4 separate regions of the Homo sapiens genome follow, and all the other regions are linked to region 4. Evidence: promoter capture Hi-C in 16 types of primary human blood cells and fetal thymus (Javierre and others, 2016). All regions are on one chromosome and are shown on one strand. The core of a region is centred on a gene start or on the middle of the fragment in contact, and the rest is flanking DNA. Distances in the headings are between cores, read along the strand shown. Region 1 has its middle 120 kb from the start of TMEM229A. Region 2 has its middle 160 kb from the start of TMEM229A. Region 3 has its middle 130 kb from the start of TMEM229A. Region 4 holds the start of GPR37 (G protein-coupled receptor 37).

Region 1 (6,374 bases), core at 3,759-6,258, 610 kb before region 4:
AATTATACGTTGTATTGCAGAGAAGGAGAAAATGTGTATAGATGGTACCTAACTGATATAATGATATGATACAACAGATCTTGGCATTCAGACTAGTTTAACTGGGTTCTTGTCTCATCTCTTCTCTATGTAAGCTGTGTGGCTTGAGGAAGTCAGTTAACCTTTCTGTGCTCTCATTTTTAAAAATGGAGAAATAATAGTACTTCTCTGATATAGTTGTTAAAATAGTTAAATGAATTAATGTATGTGAAGAGCTTACAAGAGTATCTGGCATATACTGAGCTTTCAAGAGGTGCTTCTTATTATTTTGTGAAAGTTGACCTTATATAAAGCTTTCTACAAGTCAAAATAAAATTGTCTGTAGTGTGTATACATTTATGTATCCATTTCCCTCAGCTAGATAGTATTTTCGTATGCATAGAATGGAGAATAACTTAGCAGCCATATTTTCGTAGTTTTTTCCTTTTATTAAACTTTTGTTTTATGTTATTACTCTACAGATATTTGCTCAATTTATCACAACTTAAAGTAATTCTGACTCATATTAAAGTGGACTTTTCTTGTAAGTAGAGATCTTATGCCAGTCAATCCTTGTATATTAGGAGCTGATTCTCTAGTATCCAGAAGATGAAAGGACCTTTTTCTTATTCTGGGCATATCTCTTTTGCACATTATCTGCTGACAACTGCTACTACACCTGAAGGACTCAGCTCTGTTTCATCTTCTTCAAGAAACTTTCCCTAATTCCTGTGGGATTGTGAGAGTTTCAGAATGCTTATCACACTTGCTTACCGCCCTCCTCTAGCTTTCAGCTACAAATAAAAGAAACTCCTGATAAAGTGGTGTAAACAATGAAGGTATAATATATTGCATGAGTCTAAAAACCATATTGAAAACTGCTAAATGCAAGCTCAAGATCTTTCCTCCTCTATAACTTTTTTTTTTTTTACTAACAGAATGACAATTTTATTTCCAGAGTCTGTATGTTCAACTTTTTAAATGCCTGTTAAAGAATCCCACTGGATACTACTGACATCTAAATGAATTTTGTAAAATAGCACTGCTATTTTTTTAATGTCCAGAGATATTCCTTGAAATATTTTGGGAGCTTTGATTTCATTATAAAAGTTACTCATGCATAGAGTTAAAAACTATAGGGATGAAAGTGCTTAAAGTAAAAGTTAAAGATTATCTCCCCTCATCCACACCCACACTCCCAATTTTCACTCATCAGAAAGGCAATTTCTGTTAATAGTTTCTTGTATATCCTTTAAAATGCCATTTTAAAGGATATACAATTTTAAATATCTTTTATTTATTGCATCATTTCCCTTCCAGCCTTTTATTTTTTCATAGAAGCCACCCCCGTTCCATTGCTCATTTATATATTCTGAAGTAAGCAGACCAGAAATCACTTTTGCTACCTCACAGAGAAATTGGTCTTCTTTATTAGAATATGCTCACTGAGGAAAAGAGTGTGAATTAGCAAGACTCCCTTCTGAAATGCTAAACCATGTTACATTATAGTTTTAATAATGATGGTTAATAATAATGTGTTTGTGCATTTTTGTGACTACATCACTGTCATTTCACCCCAGTACTCTTCAATATTAATAACTGTGACAGTGACAAGATGTGCTAAACAGTCACAGATTTTATAAACAGTCAGCTGTCCTCAGTGGCAAGTGGTATTTTATATTTTGTTTTAGCACAAAGAGTACGAATGATATTTATTCACTAAGACATGTAGAGCAAGATGCAAAATTTTAAAAATGCTAGTCCTATGATAGATACATATGCTGGAAGATTATGGGAGAGAAAAAATTACAGAGGCTAATGCATTTGAAGCTACTATAATACAATCCTCCATAAAGTATAATACTCTTTAAGGTAGGACTATTTTGGATTTCTTCCAAAGCCATTTATTTCTAAAGAACCATAAGAACCTTATTAAGGAGGACCTATCTTGGGCAATGTAATAGTGTCCTTTTAATTCTCTCTAGCCTACTTTTCCCACACACTTTTCCTCAAAGAATATTTTATCCAGTCTTCAGGAACTCTCATACTATGTCTCCTTCCTACTACACCCAAGGTTTTAGTAATTATTTACATCTTAAATTACGATGTTAGGATTCCATCTTTAACTCCAAAGAAACAAGGTGTCTTTCACCTTAATTAAAGGTGAGTTGAATGAGTTGGGAGTTTTGAGCCCCTTAAATCTCACTTCGTAGGCTGAGAAGGAGGATGATCCTAGTTTAACATGATATCACTTCAAAGGTAATCTCACAGGTAGCATTTTAGTGATGTCCTTGATTGATTTATAGTTCTAAGAGATTTTTGTTGTAAACAAGGAGTTTGGCAAAGAATACCAAGTAAAAACATCTTAATTTTTGTAATGATAGGATGGACTTTACTTTTGAAGAATACCCCACACCCAAGTTCTGCTGTATTTGACTGCTTAACTTTCTACTTTGGAAGGTTACAGTCTCCTCTGCCATTATTTGACCCTTAGGTTTGTAAATATGCTGTATTAGTGGCATGGGAGTAAAGCCACACCACAAGATGGCAAAGCCAAGTACTGTGATGACTCCCAATCCTGACACCCTAGTTTGGTCTGTTTGCAGTTATTTTAAGGCATTCAATAATTTAAAATATAATTCACAAATGAGGGGCAGTGGAAAATGCTGCTGTGAAATCAGAAACACAATTTGAGATGTCTCACCTCCTACAAAGAGGGCTGTCACTGCTTTCATATAGCTATTCTGGGTTTGAGATATAGTAGGTATTTCTTTAGAATCTGTAATTCTATTAGGGACACTTATGATTCCTTTGAGAGCTTCTTATTCTAACTTGTGGGGAACTATTTTCCTTTTATTCAAAGTCCATCTGATAAATCTTTCAAAATGTACCTTTTAACTGTATTTCTTGAAAATTTACATTTCTATTTTATAACTCATCTTATTGTATATAATCAGTCAACTAGTGTCAGAAAGTTACTTAAAAGTTACTTAAAAGCTGATGATATTTAAAAGGGAGAAAGACAGCTAAGTGACTCCACTCCCTTTTAACTTTGATTAAGGATAATATCCTATACTCAGTGTTAGTGGTTCTCTCTACGAGCACTTACTGTATCCTGTCACAGCAAGTTAACTTATTAATTCTGTCTCCTTATCTTGAACACTGTACATAGAGATTCTAGACACAAGTAGTCTGGAATTCACTATTCTTTTAAGTAATAAAAATGTTGTTAAGAACACGTGTTTATATGTTGACCCATTTTTATGATTCTTTATTCAGAAGTTTACTTTTTAAAAAAAAATTATTCTTAAGAGCAGCTTTAGGTTCACAGACAAATTAAGAGGAAAGTACAGAGATTTTTCCAGAACACCTCTACCCCTATACGTGCAAAGCCTCTCCCATGATCAATATCCCCCACTAGAGTGGTAAATTTGTTATACTTGATGAACTACATTGACACATATTAATGTCCTACAATGACACATCATCCAAAGTCCATGTTTATAATAGAGTTCATTCTTGGTGGTGTACATTCTATGGATTGGAAACTATGTGTAATGACATATACTGATCATTATAGTATCATACAGAGTAATTTCATTGTCCTAAAGGATCCTCTATGCTCTATATATTAATTTCTCTGCCATCCAAACCCCCTGGCAACCACTGATCTTTTTATTGTTTACTTGGTTTTGCATTTTCTAGAATGTCATATAGTTGGAATTAACAGTTTGTAGCCTTTTCAGATTGGCTTATTTCACTTAGTAATATACGTTGAAGTTTCCTACTATACATTAAGTTTATTCATGACTTGATAGCTTGTTTCTTTGTAGCACTCAATAGTATTTCACTGTTTGTATATACTACAGTTTATTAATCCATTCACCTACTGGAGGATATCTTGGTTGCTTCCAAGTTTTTGAAAATAAAACTGCTATAAGCCTCCATGTGCAGGTTTCTGTATGGACATAAGTTTCCAATTTCTTTGGGTAAATACCAAGGAGCACGATTGCATTGGTTTTGTCAGAAACTGACAAACTGTTTTCCAAAGTGGCTGTAGCATTTTGCATTCTCACCAGCAATGGGTGAGTTCCCGTTGCTCCACATCCTCATCAGCATTTGCTATTGTCAGTGTTCTAGATTTTGGCCATTCTCATAGATGTATAGTAGTATCTACTCATACTCATAGGTGTATAGTATCTCGTTTTAATTTATGTTTCCTTGATTACATATGATGTGGAATGTCTTTTCATATGCTTATTTGGCATCTGTATACTTTCATTGGTGATGTGTCTATTAAGGCAGGGGTGTCCAATCTTTTGGCTTACCTGGGTCACATTGGAAGAAGAAGAACTGTCTTGGGCCACACATAAAATACACTAACAAGATAGTTAATGAGCTAAAAAAAATCACACAAAAAAATCTCATAACGTTTTAAGAAAGTTTACTAATTTGCATTGTGCTGCATTCAAAGCCATCCTTGGCCACGGGCTGAACAAGCTTGTATTAACTTGGTGTAAAAGTTATTGGGTTTTTTTCCATTAAAAGTAAGTAATGGCAAAAACTGCAATTACTTTTTCACCAACCTAATATTAAGATATTTGGCCATTTTCCAATTGAGTTATTTTTTTTAATTGTCAAGTTTTCCTTTAGTAAGATATGCCTTTTGCAAATGTTTTCTCCCAGTCTGTGACTTGTTTTCTCACTATCTTGATGTTTTCTTTTGCAGAGCAGTTTTAAAAATGTTACTCAAGTCCAGCTTATCAATTAGTGCTTTCATGGATCATGCATTTGGTGTTGTTTCTAAAAGTTATCACCATACCAAGGTCATCTAGGTTTTCCCCTCTGTTATCTTCTAGGAGTTTCATAGTTTTGCATTTTACATTTAAATCGATGATACATTTTGGGTTAATTTTTGCAAGGAGTGTAAAATCTGTATCTAGATTCATTTTGTTTCCTGTGGATGCCCAGTTGTTTCAGCACCACATGCTGAAAAGTCTTTCTTTGCTCCACTGTATTGCTTTTGGTCCTTTGTTGAAGATTAGTTTGCTGTATTTAATGTGGATCTATTCCTAGATTCTCAATTCAGTCCCATTTATCTGTCTGTTCTTTCACCAATACCATACTGTCTTGATTATTGTTTCATAGTAAGCGTTAAAGTCAGGTTGTGCTTCCTTACTTTTAGAATAATAATCACTCATTTGTGAAACAAAGCTGCCAAGTTGCTGTCATGGAGATTGAGAACTTCTCTCCTAATGTCAGTAGTGGCTAGAGTATCACTTTTTTATTATTGCCCCTTAATGTGTCTTACTTTCTAGTTGGTAGGAGGCCTATAGCTAAGTAGTTGTTACAATAAACAGAAGTTTGCTTAAATAACATTAAGGAGGATTTGAGGAGGACAATTATGAATACAGGGACTTTTATGAGATCAAACTGCAAGAAGTACTGTGCCTCACATGAATGGGAAAGGGAAAAGTCATCAAGCTTCTCTCTGTTTTTCTGTTTCTCTGACACACACACACACACACACACACAAACACACACATACAAGTCCTTAATCCCAGATGTACATCTGCTTTATTCTTTTCTTTTTATAGATTGGCTACTCATGCCTAATCCTCAAGTCCAAGTTCATCTGGTCCTTTGGTTGAAGTTTTCATGCTTGCTAATGCAATCTCTGTGACGCTACTTTTAGATTCCAAGAAGAAAGAATCATCTGGTACTGGATCTGAGATACATGCTGAATCCAGAGCCTGTGAGTCTATAGTGAAAAGCAGTCTGAATTCTGACACAGATGACCAGTGTAAGGTCTTGAATATGTCACTTCATGTCCCTGGGTTGCAGTTTCAAGATCAAGTCAGGAGAGGGAGACAGCAAAATTATTGGTAGAGTTCTGAGCCTGACAGGCCAGAGTGTAGGAGCAGGCAGGGACCAACAGGAAGGTGATTCTCTATCTCTATCCCTGCTCAGAACTTTTCAGAACTTCACTTTTGGCATCATCTTCAGAGACTGTACTAGACACACAAGATAAATAATTTGATTTTTTTATGTGTACTTTTTTCCCCACTGCCTATCCTTTTAAATTTCACTCACTTTGTTTTCTTTTCCTGTCTCCTTCATCTGCCCTTTAAACAACAGTCTGAGGAGTTACAAAGATAGAGCCTGGTGCATGCATCAGAGACCATAAGGAAAGGCTGGAGGGCAGGAAGAGGAGTCATAAGGCTGTTCCAAGCCTGGAAGTCTGACTCACAGTACATGGGAGTCAGCCTCATTTTTCATTTCTATATTAGCTATTATTAGGCTTTTAGAAATTGGCAAATGTCAGTTTTGACTAACTCTGTTTTGTTATTGCTGTG
Region 2 (6,499 bases), core at 1,091-3,590, 570 kb before region 4:
ACAGTGCAGTCTTCAATTTGTGGCCAAAAGCCTGAGAGCCCCTGGCAAACCACTGGTGTAAGTTCAAAAGTCCAGAAGCCAAAGAACTTGGAGTCTGATATTCAAGGGCAGGGAACATTCAGCACAGGAGAAAGATGAAGGCTGGAAGACTCAGTGAGTCAAGTCCTTCCACGTTCTTCTGCCTGCTTATTCAAGCCAAGCTGGCAGCTGCTGATTAGATGGTGCCCACCCAGATTGAGGGTGGGTCTACCTCTCCCAGTCCATGGACTCAAATGTTAATCTCCTTTGGCAACACCCTCATAGGCACACTCAGGAACAATACTTTGACATCCTTCAATCCAATCAAGTTGACACTCCATATTAACCATCACAATATCCTTTGCACACTTTTAATGGTGTTATTTATTTTCTTCTTGTTTGGGTTCCTTGTAGATTCTGGAAATTAGTGTTATGTTGACGCATAGTTTGCAAATATTTTTCTCCCATTTTGTAGGTGGTCTGTTCACTCTGTTGATAATTTCTTTTGCTGTGCAGAAGCTTTTCAGTTTAATTAAGTCCTATTTGTCTATTTTTGTTTTAGTTGCATTTGCTTTTGAGATCTTATTCATGAATTAATTGCCTAAACCAACATCCAGAAAAGTTTTCCCAGGTTTTCCTCTAGCATTCTATAGTTTCACTCAACAATGATTACCACTGCCTGATATAGCATAGAGAAGTATCTAAGCATGCACATGGTGGCAGTGGCGGCAAGTTGTCTTTTATAATATCCTTTTCCTCTTTCCTAAGAAAGGAAACCACAGTTTTTCACTGGGCACAGACCACCAAGAATGAAGACTGCGTTTTCTATCCTTCTTTATACTGGGTGTGGTCATGTAAGTAGAAATTTTATATGGCGGATTCTGAGAGTGCCTCTGATCTTTATTGTTCCTTTTCTCCATCCCATTACCTGAAACCTAATGTGATTGCTGGAACTCTGGCAGCAATGTTGCTCAACTGAGGCATGGTAGATCAGCATCTCTGTTGGGCTTGAGAATCTACCTTACTAGCCCAGGGCTGCCTATTATGAATTCCTTTATACAAAAGAATATACGCTTCTGGCCAGGCACGGTGGCTCATGCCTGTAATCCCAGCACTTTGGGAGGCCAAGGTGGGTGGATTATCTGAGGTCAGGAGTTCGAGATCAGTCTCACCAACGTGATGAAACCCCATCTCTACTAAAAATACAAAAATTAACCGGGCTTTGTGGCACATACCTATAATCTCAGATACTCGGGAGGCTGAGGCAGGAGAATTGCTTGAGTCCGGGAGGTGGAGGTTGCTGTGAGCCGAGATTGTGCCACTGCACTCTAGCCTGGCCGACAGAGCAAGACTCTATCTCAAAAACAAACAAACAAACAAAAAACAGAATATAAGCTTCTGTCTTGTCTATGGAACTATGATTTTGGTTTTCTGTCATATTCAATTATACAAAATCCTGATTGATGTATACATCTACTCATTTGAAGACAGAAATTATGTAACATTTTTACAGTCTAGTGGTGACAAATCAGAAGCTGTCAATTACTATGCTTGTCTTTTTTTTGTAATGTGTTTTGTTAGATTAATGTGAAGAGGCTTGCTACTTTTAAAATAAGTGACATATACCTAATAGAAGAAGAAAATATTAAATGTTTAAGATTAACATTTTATACTCTCTCAAATAAGTTGGCACATAGTGACACCTGTGCTGATAGAATGATCACAAAAGTAGAAAACTCTGCAGGTGAGGTATCTCCTTATATTGTAATGTTCAAGAAGTCCTTGTAAAGCAGAGCTGAATCTTGCACAAGGATTTTATTATCAAATTAGACCTCTGAGAAAATCACATATAGTTAGTATTATCCTTTAAGTCCTCTCCCAATTCTCATAAAATTAGAATGTATATAGCTTTGGGATACAGCCCTATTCAGATTTATGGGCACTCAAAACATTCTTCATTTGTATTTGTTGTAAAATTCCTAATTGGCAGTGAACTCCTGAGAAGAAAATTTTAAACTCTACTTTTCTACGGGCTTTACTTCTGATTTATATAATAAGCCTCTGAATCCCAATACACATTACTAGATTGTTTGTTTTGATGAAGATGAAACAAGATAGAGGACTTGCGTCTTAACCTACAGCTAGGTCTTAAAGTCGGCTTACGATGTGTTACGTCTTCAGGAAATGTCAGCTTCACTTGCTACTTATATGTTCTATAGGATTTAGTCAGACAACATCTTTCAAACACCATTGGTTAGTTTTCATACAAAATGCAAGTTTTATCAGGGTATATTTTTATTGTAAACTTTTCAAAATTATTTTTAATTATGTGGGCATTTTTTATGTCTAACTTTATTTGCAGGGTTTTAGTATGAATAATTCACCAAATATGTTACAGATAAAGAAAGTATATTGCTAACTATTTTTTAAATAAAATATGCTTGCACTAGTTTTGTATCTTGCCAGTGTTTCTAAGCTGCTGAACAAACTCAATTTGGCAAGACAGAAATGTTGCTGTACGCTGTGGATAAAATCTCAGGCATGGACTTAAAACTTTGTTTAGACTGACTTGGAAAATAAATATGATTCTTTCATTCTTTTAAAGATTTGACAGAGGGGAGCACTGAAGAAACTTTTAATTTTAAAATAATTTTTAGTTGTATCAATATATTGTGGGAAAACAATTTTAAAAATCGCATAGTGCTGAGACAAAAAAAGCATCAGTCTGCTTTTCCCTTCGAATCCCTAAGTGACTCTTCACAGGCAAAGATGTTCAATTCTTTGGTTGTTCCTTCTAATATTTAGTTCTATGTATGTAAATACCATTGACTATAGCTATTTGTTGATTCATCACTTTTAGATATTATCACTTGATTTCCTATTTTGACATACTAGAATTTGGAACCATTTAGACTTCTTATTTCCTTATCATTTCTAAATAAAAATTTGGTAAAACCCACACACATTTTTTCCTGTTACAATGTAAAGATGGTTTTCTTTGAGCAAAAATTCTCTAATTATATTTTGTTCCCTGTACTACTTTCTATATTTTGCTGGAGATGATAATCTTCTTATTTTTAATGCTTCTTTAATTATCTTTAAATAGTTAAATTTTATGCAGCCTCCAGGAAATCTGAAATTGTTTTCTATGCAGTCTAACCTCGAGATCTTTTATCAGTTGCATTTTTGTTCTGTAGAACCAGCTCCTGGAACACTTTGCCCTCTGCTACATCAGAGGGCTTTGCTTGCCAAGCTTGGTGAAGCAGTGGTATGACTTTGCTGCTATTCAGAGACTTCTATTTGACTCTTCTCTGTGTTGCATTCCTGGTTTCTTGATTCTCATGTCTTCCTCTTTACTGGTTTATTCCTGCATTTTGTTGAAGTACATGTTCTAATAGCTTCCTGAGAAATCGTGCATGGGAGGTAATTTTTTTGAAATTGTACACATTTTAAAATAGCTTTATTCTACCCTCATATTTGATCAATTGTCCTATGGCTCTATAATTCTTTCACAGCACTTTAAAGGGAAAGTTTGTTTAATTGTCTTCTAGCACTGCCAATGTTTGCGATGAGAAATCAAGTGCTATTTTTACTTCTAATCTTTATTAGTTGCTTTGTTTTTTCTTTTCTGGAAACTTACTATCTTCTCTTTATTTTGGGGAAGTAATATGTCAGTATCTTCTGTTCTATGCAACTTAAAAGAATTGAGATCATATAGGTCAATTTTTATTTGTTTCTATCAAAATTACCTGCCCAAAGAGTTAGGTAAAAGAAAGAGAATGGGAGGGCTAAGGCTGTTAGTTGGAATTCACTCACTTTCTAAACTTCACATCTTTTCTAAGTAGTTAGTGATAATTCTTCCTTCTCAGTTGCATTCAAAGAAGTTCCCCATCTGTCTTGTGCCATGCAAAAATCCCTGAAAAGATGAGTTGTGACCTTGACTGCTTACTAAGGTGTTCAGGGACCAAGCAGCTACTTTTATTTTGCAGTGAAGGGTTGCATACATCTACAACAGCTAAATTTTAGTGACATTATCAAGGCAGACTGTATTCATCCTAGTTGAGATTCAGTATAGATGACAAATTTCTTACAATGGGAAAATTTATAGGCTCTATTTTACTGTATTTTGTTTATTTTTAATTATAGTTTTTAAATTGTTGAAAGAATAGATATTAAATGCAGAAAACCTAACAAAGAGAAAATTTATTCATAATTCCAGAGATGATAAATATTCACAACTTGACATATGTTACATAGAATTTTGTTTTGTTTTTCATTTAAACAGTCTATAAGGAACATCTCCTCATATAAATAAATATTATTGCATGTATTGTACAATATTATTTTTAAGTGCCTAGCACGTTTTCTTTTTAAGTTTACAAATAAAAATCATTTATATTTATAGTGTACAATATGATGTTTTGATAAATGTATACATTGTGGAATGGCTAAACCAAGCTAATTAACATGTACATTATCTTACATAATTATATTTTTGTGGGAGTGAAAACACTTAACCATCTGTCTCAGCAATTTTCAATATGCAACACATCGTTATTAACTATAGTTACTATGTTTGTACGACATGACTTTTGATGGTTGCATAGTGTTTCATTGTATGAACTTGTCCTAATGTATACAACCATTTTCTTAGGCCTAGAGACTTCAGGGATCTTTTCATTTGTTTTTGCCCTCCTAAATATTATGCAACCCAAAATGGCTCAAGCTTTATCAGCCTATACATCAAAATGGAGTCACAATAACATTACTTTTCAAATTATGATGTTTCATAGCCCCTTCTTGCATGATTTTAATATTTATTAGTTTTTTTGTGGAAGGCCTTGGGGTTGTCTTATTGGTTTACAGGAATAAGCCCATGTATATTTTCTCCCTTTGAGCATCTTCTAGGAAGCCCCACCACCATCACTGGGGAGGAGTCTTGACTCTGCTGCTAATGTTGGCACCTCCTAAGTGAATGCTGCTTCTTAGCTCCGTTTTGCAGTGTTCTCAGATCCTGCTACCACTTGTTCTTGCAGATAAAAGAGCAGAATGTGACTGATGTAGTCTGGCTTTGTGTCCCCACCCAAATCTCATCTTGAATTGTAATCTGAATTGTAATCCCCATGTGTTAGAGGATGGACCTCGTGGGAGGTGATTGAATCATGAGGGCAGTTCCCCCATGCTGTTCTTACGATAGTGAGTGAGTTCCCATGAGATCTGATGGTTTCATAAGGGGCTCTTCCCCCTTCACTCTGCACTTCTCTCTCCTGCTGCCTTGTGAAGAAGGATGTGTTTGCCTCCCCTTCTGCCATGATTGTAAGTTTCCTGTGGTCCCCCCAGCCATGCAGAACTGTGAGTCAATTAAACCTCTTGCCTTTATAATTTACCCAGTACTGATATTTCTTTACAGTAGAGTGAAAATGGACTAATACATCACCTTTCCTCATTTTGAGCTAGATTTTGTTTTTTATGCTCAAAGACAGCAATGCTTATGCCCAGTCTCAATAAACATTTCCTGAAAGTAGTCCTTCAGTTTCTGGCTCTAACTCCTACTTCTTAAAGGTACAGGTTCTCTGTCTTCACCTCTTCAAAACTTTTATATGGAGCTTTAAGAAGATTTAGATGCCCAGGTCATACTTCAGACCTATTGACGTAATCTTCCAGGTAGAACTCCAGTATGTGCATTTCAAAAGTTCATCAGGTAGTTTTGTTAAACGTAATAGATTCTCTTTGTTGCCCATGCAGATCCCTTCCCTGTAGTATCCCCCTCTCTCAGCTTATCTAAATGCTGTGATTAATAGCTTACACTTGTAATCTTTTCAAGAGGATTGCCACTTTACCTAGAAATGCCAGGGAAGTTACCAACACCATACAGGTTTTACTGTAGAGCATACTCTCACTAAAACTTATGCACCCGTCATGTTGGTGGGACTGTAGATTAGTACAGTCATTATGAGAAACAGTATGGAGGTTTCTCAAAAAATTAAAAATAGAATTATGATCACATATGATCTAGATCTAGAAACTCTAGACCACATATGATCTAGAAATTCTACTTCTGGGTACATATCTAAAGGATATAAAATCAGTATGTCAAAGAATATTTGTACTCCCATGTTCATTGCAGTGTTATTCATAATGCCAAGATATGGAAATGACTTAAGTGCCCATCAATAGATGAATGGATAAAGGAATTGTGATATAGATATGTGTGTGTGTGTGTGTGAATCTTATTCAGCCATAAAAAAAGAAGAAAATTCTGTCATTTGGGATAACATGGATGAACCTGGAAGACATTACGTTAAATGAAATAAAACGGGAATGGAAAGACAAATAGCATATGATCTCACTCATATGTAGAATCTAAAAAAGTTGATCTCGTAGAAAGAGAAAGGAAAATGGTGGTTACCAGAGGCTGGGGTAGTTGGGGGAAGATGTTGGTCAAATAATATAAAATTACAGTTATATAGTAGAAATAAGT
Region 3 (6,135 bases), core at 2,632-5,131, 600 kb before region 4:
TTATCATGCTAAATGCCTACATAAAAAGTTAGAAATATCTCAAATTAATAGCACTAACATCATACCTAAAGGAATTAGAAAAACAAGAACAAACCAAATCCAAGGCCAGTAGAAGAAAATACATAATGAAGATTAGAGCAGAACCAAATGAAATTGAGACCGAAAAAGCCATACAAAAGATTAATGAAACAAAAAGTTGCCTCTTCAAAAGGATAAATAAAATTGACTGATAGCCAGATTAGCTAAGAAAAAAAGAGAAAAGAGTCAGATAAGTATAATCAGAAGTGACAAAGGTGACAATACAACTGATACCAGAGAAATATAAAAGATCTTCAGAAACTACTAATGACATCTATGCACAAAACCTAGAAAATCTAGAGGAAATGGATAAATTACTGAAAACACTCAATTCCCTACTATGAACATCTGTGCACATAAACTAGAAAATTTAGAGGAAGTGGATAAATTCCTGAAAACATTCAGCTCCCTACTGTGAACAACTGTGCACATAAACTAGACAATTTAGAGGAAGTGGATAAATTCCTGAAAACACTCAACTCCCAAGCTTGAACCAAAGAAATAAAAATCCTGAACAGACTAATAATGAGTTATGAAAATGAATCAATAATAAATCTACCAACCAAAACCAGCAGTGAACCAAACAGATTCATAGCTGAATTCTATTAGATGTTCAAAGAAGAACTGGTACCAATCTTACTGAAACTATTCCAAAAAACCAAGGAGGAGGAATTCCTACCTAACTTATTCTACAAAACCAGTATGATGTTGATACCAAAATCTGGCCAGGACACAACAAAAAAAGAACATTACAGGCCAATATCTCTGACTAGCACAGATGCAAAATCCTCAACAAAATATTACCAAACCAAATCCAACAGTATGTCAAAAAGATAATTCATCATGATCAAGTGGGTCTTATTCCTGGAATGCAAGGATTGTTCAACACATGCAAAACAATAAATGTGGTTAGCCACATAAGCAGAATCAAAAGCAAAAACCATACGATCATTTCAATAGATTCAGAAAAAGCATTTGATAAAATTCAACATCTCTTCATGATGAAATCCCAAACAAACTAGGCATTGAATGAACATACCTCAAAATAACAAGAGCCATTTATGACAAACCCACAACCAACATCATACAGAATGGACAAAAGTTGAAAGAATTCCTCCTAAGAGCTAGAAAAAGACAAGGATGTCCACTCTTACTACTCCTATTTCACAAAGTACTGGTAGTCCTAGCCAGAGCAATCAGATGAGAGAAAGAAATACAAGGCATCCAAATAGGAAAAGAGGAAGTAAAATTATCTCTGTTTGCTGACAACATGATTCTATACCTAGGAATTCCTAGAGATTCCTTCAAAAGACTTCTAGACCTGATAAACAAATTCAGTAAAGTTTTGGGATACGAAATCAGTGAACAAAAATTAGTGGGATTTCTATACACCAATAATTTTCAAATCAAGAACAAAATCAAGAACCCAATTTCATTTACAATAGCCTCACACACAAAATACAATACTTAGGAATATATTTAACCAAGGAGGTGAAAGACCTTTACACAGAAAACCACAGAACATTGATGAAAGAAATTACAGATGACACAAACAAATGGAAAATCATTCCATGCTCATGGATAGAAAGGATCAATATTGTTAAAATGACCATAATGCCCAAAGCTGTCTATAGATTCAATGCAATTATTATCAAATTACCAGTGTGTTTTTTCACAGAATTAGAAAAAAAAATCCCAAAGTTCTTATGGAACCAAAAAGAGCCTGAATAGCCAACGCAATTCTAATCAAGCAGAGAAACAAACAAACAAACAACCCCCACCCCCCAAAAAAGCAAAAGCAAAAGCAAAGCCAAAAACAAACCAAAAACAACCACAAAAAAAACCAAAGCTGGAGCCATCTCTTTACCAGACCTTGGACTGTAGTATAAGGCTGTAGTAATCAGAACAGCATAGTACTGCTACAAAAATAGACACACAGATCAATGGAACAGAACAGAAAACCCAGATATAAAGCCACACACTTAACAACTAACTGATCTTCAAAAATGTTGACAAAGATAAGCAATGAGGAAAGGACTCCCTATTCAATAAATGGTGCTGGGAAACTGGCTAGTGATATGCAGAAGAATGAAATTGGACCCCTAGTTATTACTGTATACAAAAGTTAACTCAAGATGGATTTAAGACTTAAATGTAAGACTTAACTATAAAAATCCTAGAAGTAAACCTAGGAAAAACTCTTCTGGAAATTGGCCTATGCAAATCATTTATTGCTAAGACCTCAAAAGAAAATAGAACAAAAACAAAAATAGACAAATGGGACTTAATTAAACTAAAAACATTCTGCACAGCAAAAGAAACAACAGATTAAACAGACAGCCTACAGAATGAAAGAGTATAGCAAACTATTCATCCAACAGATTAATATCGAGAATCTATAAGGAACTTCAATAAACAAGAAAAGAAAAAAGTAACTTCATTGAAAAGTGACAAAGAACATGAACAGACATTTCTCTTGTATGTAGAAGACATACAAGCAGCTAACAAACATGTAAAAAGATGCTCAACATCTGGAATCAGCAGAGAAATGCAAATCAAAACTGCAATGAAATGTTTATCTTACTCTAGTCAAAATGGCATTATCAAAAAATCAAACAATAACAGATGTTGGTGAGGATGCAGAGAAAAGGGGTCATTTATACACTTGTGGGAATGTTAAGGAGTTCAACCCTTATGGGAAACAGTATGGAGATTTTGCAAAGAACTGAAAACAGAACTACCATTTGACCCAGAAATCCCACAACTGGGTATCTTCCCAAGGAAAATAAATCATGTTATCAAAAAGACACTTGCACTTGTATGTTTGTTGCAGTACTATTCATAATGGCGAAGTCATGGAATCAATCTAAGTGACCGACAACAGTGGATTAGATTTAAAAAATGTGGCACATATACACCGTAGAATACTACACAGCCATATAAAGAATGAAATTTTGCAGCAGCGTGGACATAGTTGGAGGCCACTGTGCTAAGTGAATTAACATTTAAACAGAAAATCAAATACTACACCATCTCACCTATAAGAGAGAGCCAAGCAATAAGTACACAGGGTTATACATATGAAAATGATAGATACAGGGAACTCCAAAATTGGGGAGAGAAGCCTGGGGGAAAGGGCTGAAAAACTACCTATTGGGTACAATGTTAAATATTTGGGTGATAGGTTCACTAGAAGCCAAAAACGCAGCATTATACAGTACACCCATGCCACAAACCTGCACAGCTATCCCCTGAATGTAAAAACAAAGAGAAAACTAAGTAAGCAAAGCATAAAAATGGGACCAATAATATCTTCTTTTTATTAGTTTTGATTGTTCTAAAGGTAAGAAGGGATGGCACATAAAGTGCCTATCAAATATTGCTCGGTTCATGATAAGAATAGTAATAATGGTAGTCACAAAAAGAGTCATAACTTCAACAACAATGATGATGATGACAACTAGAACAATTAAGATATTTATTATAGCTTTGAGAAGATTTTAGAATTTTATGAAGTCATTTTTCAAGTAGTGTAAGCTTTCTGTTTGGCAAAAGGTTTTGCTTCCTTTATGTTATAATAATGGATCTTTTGCCAGGCATGGTGGCTCACGACTGTATTTCCAGCTACTTGGGAGACTGAAGTGGGAGGATTGCTTGAGTCTGGGAGTTCAAGACCAGACTAGGCAACATAGTGAGACCCATATAAAAAAAAAGATTTTTCAATTCAAAGTTAATGTTACTAAACATATCAAAAATTGTTTAGTCTTATGCTCTGTGTGGACATGGAAAATAAAAGATGAATAGTGAATTTGTTTTCTTTTTAAAAAAGTTGTATAGACATCAAGACACTCCCACCCTTTTTTGAGTAGCTGTATCACTTTTGAGATTCTGCACGTATATTGAGAAGCTCAAAATAAAAAGCCTGGTTTATAGAATTTTTAGTGGTGAGGACCAAGTTAGAGCTGGCTAGAAGGTTCCCTGCCAAGAGAACTGCAGATGAGCGATTCCCTAGATTAGCACTGAAGTGGGAATAGGGGAAGTGTTTCCAACTGCCTAAGATAAAAAAGCTGAAGCTTAAACATTTTTAATGTTCAGAAAGCTGACACAAGATTACCAGTGCTATACAAATTAAATTATTTTCTTATTTTCTTACTCCTGTGCTTGCCCCCAATGTCTACTCCAAAGGACCAGCAGAAATCTTGCAATCTGGGATAGAAGGAGTGAAACTAAAATGGAAAAAGAGTAATCTGATTACTCCCACCCTTCCTGACTCCTACATATCCCATCTAGGATTTTAAACCAAGATTAAAGTTTTTCAATTGTATGGTCATGGGCATTTAAATCATTAAACAAGTCTTTATTTTGTGGTGTGGAATGACTGTATACAGTTTGTTTTGCCTAGCAGGGAAGAGAAAAGTCAGTGCATCTGCCTGAGTTTTCATTTAGAGAGGTAAGAGAAGAATTGGTTCTACTACTAAACATATCTTTATTCTCTTTCCAAATAATACAAGGACTCCAGAAGATTGAATTCCCCAGTGGACAAGTCTTTGTTATGAATATTTTAATTTTATTATATTGCCTGCTCTTTTGTAGTTGGATGGAGTTACATGACTAATTCTGACCAATGGGCTATGATTGGAAGTGGTGACATATGTACTTCTATGTATATTCCCATGTGTTTTCTTTCCCAACCATGACATCTTGAGAGACTATATGTTTCAGTTGTACAGCTGCATGAAGACGGAACTCTATTAGCCTTGGTACCACTGTGACTTTTTGGAGCAGATTCTCTTAGTGACTGTTGTTGGTTATGTAGTTTGAGTGAAAAAAAGACCTCGTTATGTTAAGCCACTGAGCTTTCGGGGTTGATGTATTGCCCTAATATAACTAGCCTGTTCTGAATAACAAATACACAAATATATCATTTTTTTACGCTCTTCATTCTTTCTTGCATCTCAGATTTTCCATTTAGGGTTACTTTCCTTTCCTCTGAAGTACATCTATTATCTCCTTTGATGTATGTTTATTGGTAGTAGAGTAGTTCCCCTTTATTCACAGGGCATGTTCCAAGACCTCCAGTGGATGCCTGAAACCACAAATAGAACTGAGCCCTAGATATGCTATGTTTTTCCCTATACTTGAATATTTATAATAAAGCTTATAAATTAGACACAGTAAAAGATTAACAACAATAATAAAATAGAACAATTATCAGCAATTTACTGTCATAAAAGTTATGTGAATGTGGCCTCTGTCTCTCAAAACGTGTTATTGTACCGTCTGTACCCGCCCTTCTTCTTGTAATGACGTGAGATGAAATGACTATGTGATTGAGATGAATTGATGAAACAGGATGGAAAGAGGTTTCATCACACCACCTAGAATGGCATGCAATTAAAAAATTGTAAATAGTTTGTTTCTGGAATTTTCCATTTAATATTTTCTGACCATGATTCACTGTGGGTGATGGAAGCCGTGGAAAGTGAAACACTGGATAAGAGGACTACTCTACATATTTTGTTGATCTTTACATATGTAAAACCTAGTTGACTAAACTGAGAGTGCTTAAATTCCCACAGTGTTTGTGTTTGCTTTTGCTAGAGCCAGGTGATGTTCCCCGTCTTATGCTACTCCAGCCCCTTCTACCATCACTGATTCAATCCTAAAATTTTAGGTTGTGTGTTTTCAACTAATTAACACTTTTATATCAGCATTTGTTTCAGGGTAACTCCACCTGTTATGTGTTCTCAAAGTTTACCTAGAGTTTACAAAATCTTTCAGCACTGCATCTTTGTCACATTAGTGGGTAAAGTATGAGGTCCCAGCCCTTCTCCCTAACCACTTTATCTTTTTGCTCTGCATATTTGAGGAACATTACACATGACTTCTCTCTGGGCCTCACGGGAGAAAAGAGTGTCTTAAAAATTTATAAAGCTTTTGAAGTTCTAAAACCTTGGAATTGGAAGATTAGAAATTTTTACTACCTTGTGTAATTTTATTTTGATATGTTAAGTTTCTTGATTACTTCCTTCTTGAAAAATTTATAACCTCCTACAT
Region 4 (6,100 bases), core at 2,729-5,228:
TTTCAGAGTAATAAGGATTAGGTAGAAATATAGAAATGCTACATATTAAGATGTTCATTCACTATTTTAACAGTAAAAATGTATATTATACTGTAATTTTAAAAAATAAATGAGTGAATTTTTTAAGCCTTTGATTCTCTAAGAAAAATAAATGCTAGCACTAATAACTGAAAAATAGAGAAAGCTACTAGGATGGGGAAAAGTTAAGCAAAAATACAGAAAGTAAAAGATTTTACTAATAATAAGAGGCAAAAAACAAAGCACTCTTAAGGAGGAGCTGATTAAATTAAAAAGTGAAATACAAATGAAAGAAAGTATTACATTTGTACAAACTCAGAATTACGGAAAAAGAAAATTAAAATAAGTACATAATAAATGCCATTGCTCAAAATGCTTATATCTCATTAAATTAACCAAAGTTTTTATAATCTTTCCTGAATTTGATATTCTTTTCTTTTAAGGTGTTCTTTCAAGAACTTTGGTGTTTTTATTTTTCTTTCCCCAATTTCCTTTTTCTGTCCTATTGTTTTTCCCTCTAGTGTATACAGATTTCTACATGTCCAGTACATTTCCAGTGAGATAAGCCAATACACTTCTCTGTCATTGAGGTACCTCTCTTGTCCGCTTTATACTTTTGTCTCTTTCTTGCATAAGTCAATTTCTTCTGATAAAAAAAAAAAAAGAAAAAAAGAAATTTGAAACTGACCTTGAAGAGGCAGTTTGGTAAATAGACACATATTCTCTAACATGAGTTCAACTGGCTCCTTCACAATTCAAAAATGAATTGTCTACCAAACAAAGTAGATGTTTCAGAGATACGCCAAGCTTGGCAACAGGAGAAATCATGGACGCTGCTAAAGCAGCAACAGCTGATTTCATAGTCATGGAATGATCCTGCACCTGATCCCTGTCAAGATAACAGAGGGTCTTATTTACTGTCTCCAGCTTTGGTCCGTCTAAGTAGGTACTGTTTTCTGTTTACTTATCCCCCAGCTTTAGGCCTGGAACAATGTTGAACATAGTGTCACAGGCCCTGGTGCCAGACAGGATCAGGGGCTGCGGAATATTTACAGTTTCCCTTCTTCTGCTTCCATAAATGAAATGGACAGTCTGAATGGAGAAAATCAAGGGCCAGCTGGCTAAAAACACAACTGGCAGCAAAACAGTTGGGCCCCTTCCAAGAGCTGGTGTTTAAAGAGAGGCCATTTAAAGAGCAAAGTCCACCTACCACAATAGTGGGCCAGGACACTAGCTGTAGGATGAAACAATGCAATTTCACTCAAAATGATTTTTGTTTCCAAAGTTTGGAAACTAGATGTGCCCCCTTCTTCCCAAGAAATTTTCTAGTCTTAGGGTCAATCCCTTAAAATAGCCAATCTTTCCACCCATAACAAATAACAAATGTATAACTTTGAGAATGTTAAACAAATTATGTGCCACGCTGGCCAAAGTCTTATTTTTGCTTAAGTTCACGCAAACACACAAAAATAAAATTAAGAAACCGAGATGGGAAAAGACAGGAACAAAAAATGACTTAAGAATTTAGATGGGATAGCATGGAAGACAGTCAGACACTTAAACTAATTTGAGAGGTTATTAATATATCATGAGGCCAACTGACAAACACAATTTTCTTTCTTTCTTTCTTTCAATAAAATGTTACTCCAACTTTGCTGTTTAAGAAAAAATGCAATAATCTTCTTGGGGGAAAACTCACATTGAAGCACTTGGTAACTAGTACACAAATGCTAATGTTTTTTTTTTTTTCCTTGTAGGCTCTGATGATGACAACCTTAGGCTGGCCATTTACTTAACCCTAAAATCTCTGACAAGTGCCAAATCAGAAATACGCATAACACCATATTCAGGGAGATAGATTTATACTCCAAACAATTCTGTATATTGTGAGATCATCCTTTTTTTACAGCCCAGGAGCAGATGAATTTGAAGGTGATTTCGCGAAGCTGCCTCTTTTTGTATATACATACATGCATAAATGATTGGAAAGAGAAATGAAAGAGGGCCCCAGATAAAAAGGAAAGGCGTTCAGCTAGATAGGTGCATCCAGCAGCAGTTCTCTGATGCTATAATCCCGAAAACAGATAAAGCCACTAGCTTGAGAGCCCCTGGAAGGCATTACCTCTATATAGGGCACGATCTTGCAGGAGAAGTCCTCCAGCAGCCACTTCTTGGTCAGCTCGTGGAAGATGACCAGCGGAAGGCAGAAGAAGATGATGAGAAAGTCCCAGAAGGCCAGGTTGGCCAAGAGGGAGTTGGAGATGCTCCGCATGTAGTAGTTGTGGCACACGATGCACATCACCGCCAGGTTGCCAATGATGCCGGTCCCGAAGATCACCACGGACAGACACATGACCGCGTAGGCTCCATAGGACTCCTGGGTCAGCGGGTAGAAGGGGTTCTTCAGTCTCACACGCCGGTTCGTGCTGTTTCCCCGGCGGGGACCCCCAGGCTCATGGATTCCTTCACCCAAGGATCCATTCTGGGCCAGCGCCCGGCCCGGGAGTGCAATTGTCCACCCTTCGTGCCCCGCCAGTCCATTGGCCGTCTTGGACAGGGGCTTGTGGTGGGAACCCTGGAGTTTCCCGGCTCTCCTTGGCCAGTAAAAAAGATCGCTGGCTCCGGGGACTGTCTTCACACTCTGCTCCTGGCTACGCCCGGAAATGCCAGCGCCTCTGGGACCCTTCTCTTCCTCCTCTGAGATCTGAAGGAAGAGCTGGAGGGCCGTGGGGTTCCCTCTCCCCAAAGTTTCAGAAGGCTCCTGACCCCGAGCACCTTTCCACCTCCAGGGGCCAGGTGGCCTGGTTGGAGGTCCCGGGGGTCCGGCTGCCGACGCCTCCGCCCCTCTGCCTGCAGCCGGGTCACGGCCCGGGGCCGCCGGCAGGTCCCAGGAGGGTCCCGCAAGAAACGCTGCCCCCTGCTCCTCCCTGGGTGCTCGGGCTCGCAGAACGTCTCTTGCAGAATTTCCCGGTCCCCAGGCGTCCCTGCCGCGGCGCTGGATCACTGTAGGTGCACAGCTCTCCCCCAGACAAGTTTCGTTTCTGGACGCAGGGGCGACCCCGAGGGCAGAAGAGGCAGACACCTTGAGCAGTAGCAGAAGCAGTAGCCGCGACATGCGGGCGAGAAGCGCGCCCGGGGCTCGCATGGCTTGGTGAGGGCACACCCGGCAGCCGCAGCTCCTGCTTAGTTAGGATCGACACCTGCTGCCGAAGTTGCTGCTGAGAGTTAGGCACATGTCACATACTCACCCCCGCCCGGGTAGCGGGGAACCGGAGATTAGGGTGATAGCGGAAGATCGGTCTTGGGGGTCACACACACGCCCCCTATAATCCTTCCTCCTTTGGCATCTTGTGCATTTCTCAGCCAAGTTGAGTCCCAGCAAGGTATGCCCTCCAAGGTTCCTAGAGGGAATAGGCTACTCCCGGTGGCTGACCTTGAAAAGTTGCAATCAACACCTGACTGTTGATTACTGTTGAGACTCGGGGGAGCCCAGACGAAGCCCCACACTCCTCACTGCCTTTGGGTGGGGGTGGTGGCCTTCTTGGTAACAGTTGCTCTGCCTATTTACATCCTTTCGACAGCGTTTGATCCAGTTGCAAGCCGAGGTCTCTAGAGGAAAAGAAAAACAAGTCCCCCTCCCCCAGACGACTCGCAGTCACAACCCCGCTCCCAGCTCGCTGGAAACACGTTGCAAACAGTCCGAAGCAGCGCTGATGCGCCGGCGAAACTCTTGCCCCACCTAACCCCAGCGACTTGCGAGCCTACTGCTGCCGAGGAGAAGCGGGATTCCAACCCCGCGGCCACTGCCAAAGTTGCTTCTCCTCCAGCTCAAAGTTGACGACGGGGCGAAGCAGGCTGCTGGACGGCGTGCCGCCGCAGAGAAGGAAATCGTGGGGAGAAGGGGGAGAAGAGGGCGCCGCTCGTCGGTGGACAGTGCCGCTAGCCGCGGGAGCTAGTCACTGCCACAGCGGGCTCAGCCCGGACGGGAAGGGTGGTGCCTGGAACCGCCGCGGGCCAGGCAGTGCGCGGCCGGGAAGGGGAGGTGGCCCGGCCTCGCCCCCGCGCTCCAGCCGCTGCGCGCGCCCGCGAAGCTCGACTCTCGGCTCGTTGCCTCCTCCCACTCCTTCGCCTCCTCCTCGGAGAGATACTGGTTTGTGGGGAGACGGGATCCCCTGGTGGTTCACCACTCACTAAACCCACACACGTTTCATTCAAGCCATTTGTAGCGGCTTCCACTCGGAGGAGCTGGGAGGGAACAAGGGCGGAGGCGCGGAGCCTGCGCGGCTCGAGGCTAGGGATGGGCGGGACAGGTTAATTCCCCAGCTGTCGAAACCAGCCTGACAGGTCCCCGAGCCCGGGCTAGGGGCGGGTGCGGGGCGGGAGTGGGGGGTGGGGGTGGGAACGGGAATATGAGAGCGGTCGGGGGAGGGAAGAGAGGAGGGTAGCAGGGGAGTGAGCAGCAGGGTCCCCTCCAATCTGTTGCGGCTGATGCGCATGCCCAGGTCTCAGCTCTGGGGGGCGAGGGGCGGGGCGGGGGAGGGGCGGACGGGGGTTGGGCCGCGGGGAGTAAGAAGGTGAAACCTCACCTCCTCAGGTATTCCCTAGAGATAGGAGAGAATGGGAGCTCAGAGGTGTCAGTCATAGAGAATTACCAGTTCCAGGATTGAGATGCAGAGCGAGAAAGCTCAGGATGCACCATTACCTTTAACACTGAGTTGGGAAGCATCCTACCATGGGTTACTTCGTACCACCCAGAGCATAGTGAGGTAGTTGTATTTGATGAAGTAGTGGGAAATGACTGGAGGCAGAAAATTACTCGAACAGCACTCCCAGCACGGCTGTCCATGCCTTTCCAACCTTTCTACTATATCCCACAACCCTGTCAAAACTGTCAGGGCATAGCTAATAAAATAGACAAATTAATGAAGAGAAAATGATAGAGGAAGAAATAAACACATTCTGAATTTTTTTTTTAAACAGAGTCTTGCTGTGTCGCCCAGGCTGGAGTGCAGTGGTGCGATCTCGACTCACTGCAACCTCCGCCTCCCCGGGTTCAAGCGATTCTCCTGCCTCAGCCTCCCAAGTAGCTGAGACTACAGGCACCCGCCACCATGCCCGGCTAATTTTTTTTGTATTTTTAGCAGAGACGGGGTTTCACTATGTTGGCCAGGCTGGTCTTGAGCTCCTGACCTCGTGATCCGCCCGCCTCGGCCTCCCAAAGCGCTGGCATTACAGGCGTGAGCCATCACACCCGGCCTGAATTTTTTTAAAGCAACACATCTAGAGAGGCAGGAGAAAACACAATGGAACATATGATACCAATTGTGGTAAATAGAATAATGCCCCCCCAAAAAAATGTCCGAATCCTAATTCCTAATACCTGTGAGTATGTTACCTTACAGAGCAAAAGGGATTTTGCCAATGCAATTCAGCTAAGACTCTTGAGATGGGGAGAGTATCGTGATTATCCAGGTGGGTACACTATAATCACAAGAGCCCTTACAAATGAGAGGCAGGAGGGTCAGAGTAAAAACAAACACAAGCCAAGTGATGTGGGCAATCTCTGGAAGCTAGAATGGGCATAAAAAAGGATCTACTAGCCCATTTGAGACTTCTGACCTCCATAACTGTAAGATAATGAATGTGTGTTGTTTTAAGCCACAAAATTTATGGTTATTTGTTGCAGTAGCAATAGTAAACTAATACACCATTAAATCTAAAAATGGAGACAACAGGAATAATTGTATAGAAAAACATAAACTACCAAAAATAGTTCAAGAAGAAAATTTTCAGAAACTGTAATCGAACTATAACATTAAAGAAATCAAATCATTCATCAAGATCTACCCAGAGGAAAGTGCTAGACCTTAGCATATCCTGCGGAATAAATATACATTTATACAAAATGTTTTAAAGCTACTCAGTTCATTTTGTGAAGGCAGAATAACCTTAATGTCAAAATCAGACAAAGCCAGAAATAGGAAAAAATATAAGCTAATAGCACACATTCATTTGTACATTAATTCATTCATTTATATACACTAACTCATTCTCTCAAATTCACTACTTCATTAAAGAAATA

What was found. The method cuts DNA at HindIII sites, captures the fragments that hold promoters and counts their contacts. A CHiCAGO score of 5 or more calls a contact.
Region 1: a fragment that was not itself captured here is called in contact with the fragment with the promoter of GPR37 in region 4 in 4 of 17 cell types (endothelial precursors, M0 macrophages, megakaryocytes and 1 more); the score reaches 13.7 in endothelial precursors.
Region 2: a fragment that was not itself captured here is called in contact with the fragment with the promoter of GPR37 in region 4 in 1 of 17 cell types (endothelial precursors); the score reaches 5.9 in endothelial precursors.
Region 3: a fragment that was not itself captured here is called in contact with the fragment with the promoter of GPR37 in region 4 in 3 of 17 cell types (endothelial precursors, megakaryocytes and erythroblasts); the score reaches 8.5 in endothelial precursors.

What each region holds. Positions count from the first base shown.
Region 1 is chr7:124,147,167-124,153,540 of GRCh38, forward strand. No RefSeq gene overlaps it. Among named protein-coding and RNA genes, the nearest start is that of TMEM229A, 120 kb to the left of the region's middle. The HindIII fragment of the contact is 984 bases long and covers 4,517-5,500 here.
Region 2 is chr7:124,193,445-124,199,943 of GRCh38, forward strand. No RefSeq gene overlaps it. Among named protein-coding and RNA genes, the nearest start is that of TMEM229A, 160 kb to the left of the region's middle. The HindIII fragment of the contact is 1,858 bases long and covers 1,412-3,269 here.
Region 3 is chr7:124,164,751-124,170,885 of GRCh38, forward strand. No RefSeq gene overlaps it. Among named protein-coding and RNA genes, the nearest start is that of TMEM229A, 130 kb to the left of the region's middle. The HindIII fragment of the contact is 536 bases long and covers 3,614-4,149 here.
Region 4 is chr7:124,761,814-124,767,913 of GRCh38, forward strand. GPR37 (G protein-coupled receptor 37) reads right to left here and starts at 3,979. Exons shown (of 2, transcript NM_005302.5): 1 at 2,141-3,979. The coding sequence starts at 3,163. RefSeq lists a silencer at 3,991-4,120. The HindIII fragment of the contact is 5,609 bases long and covers 824-6,100 here.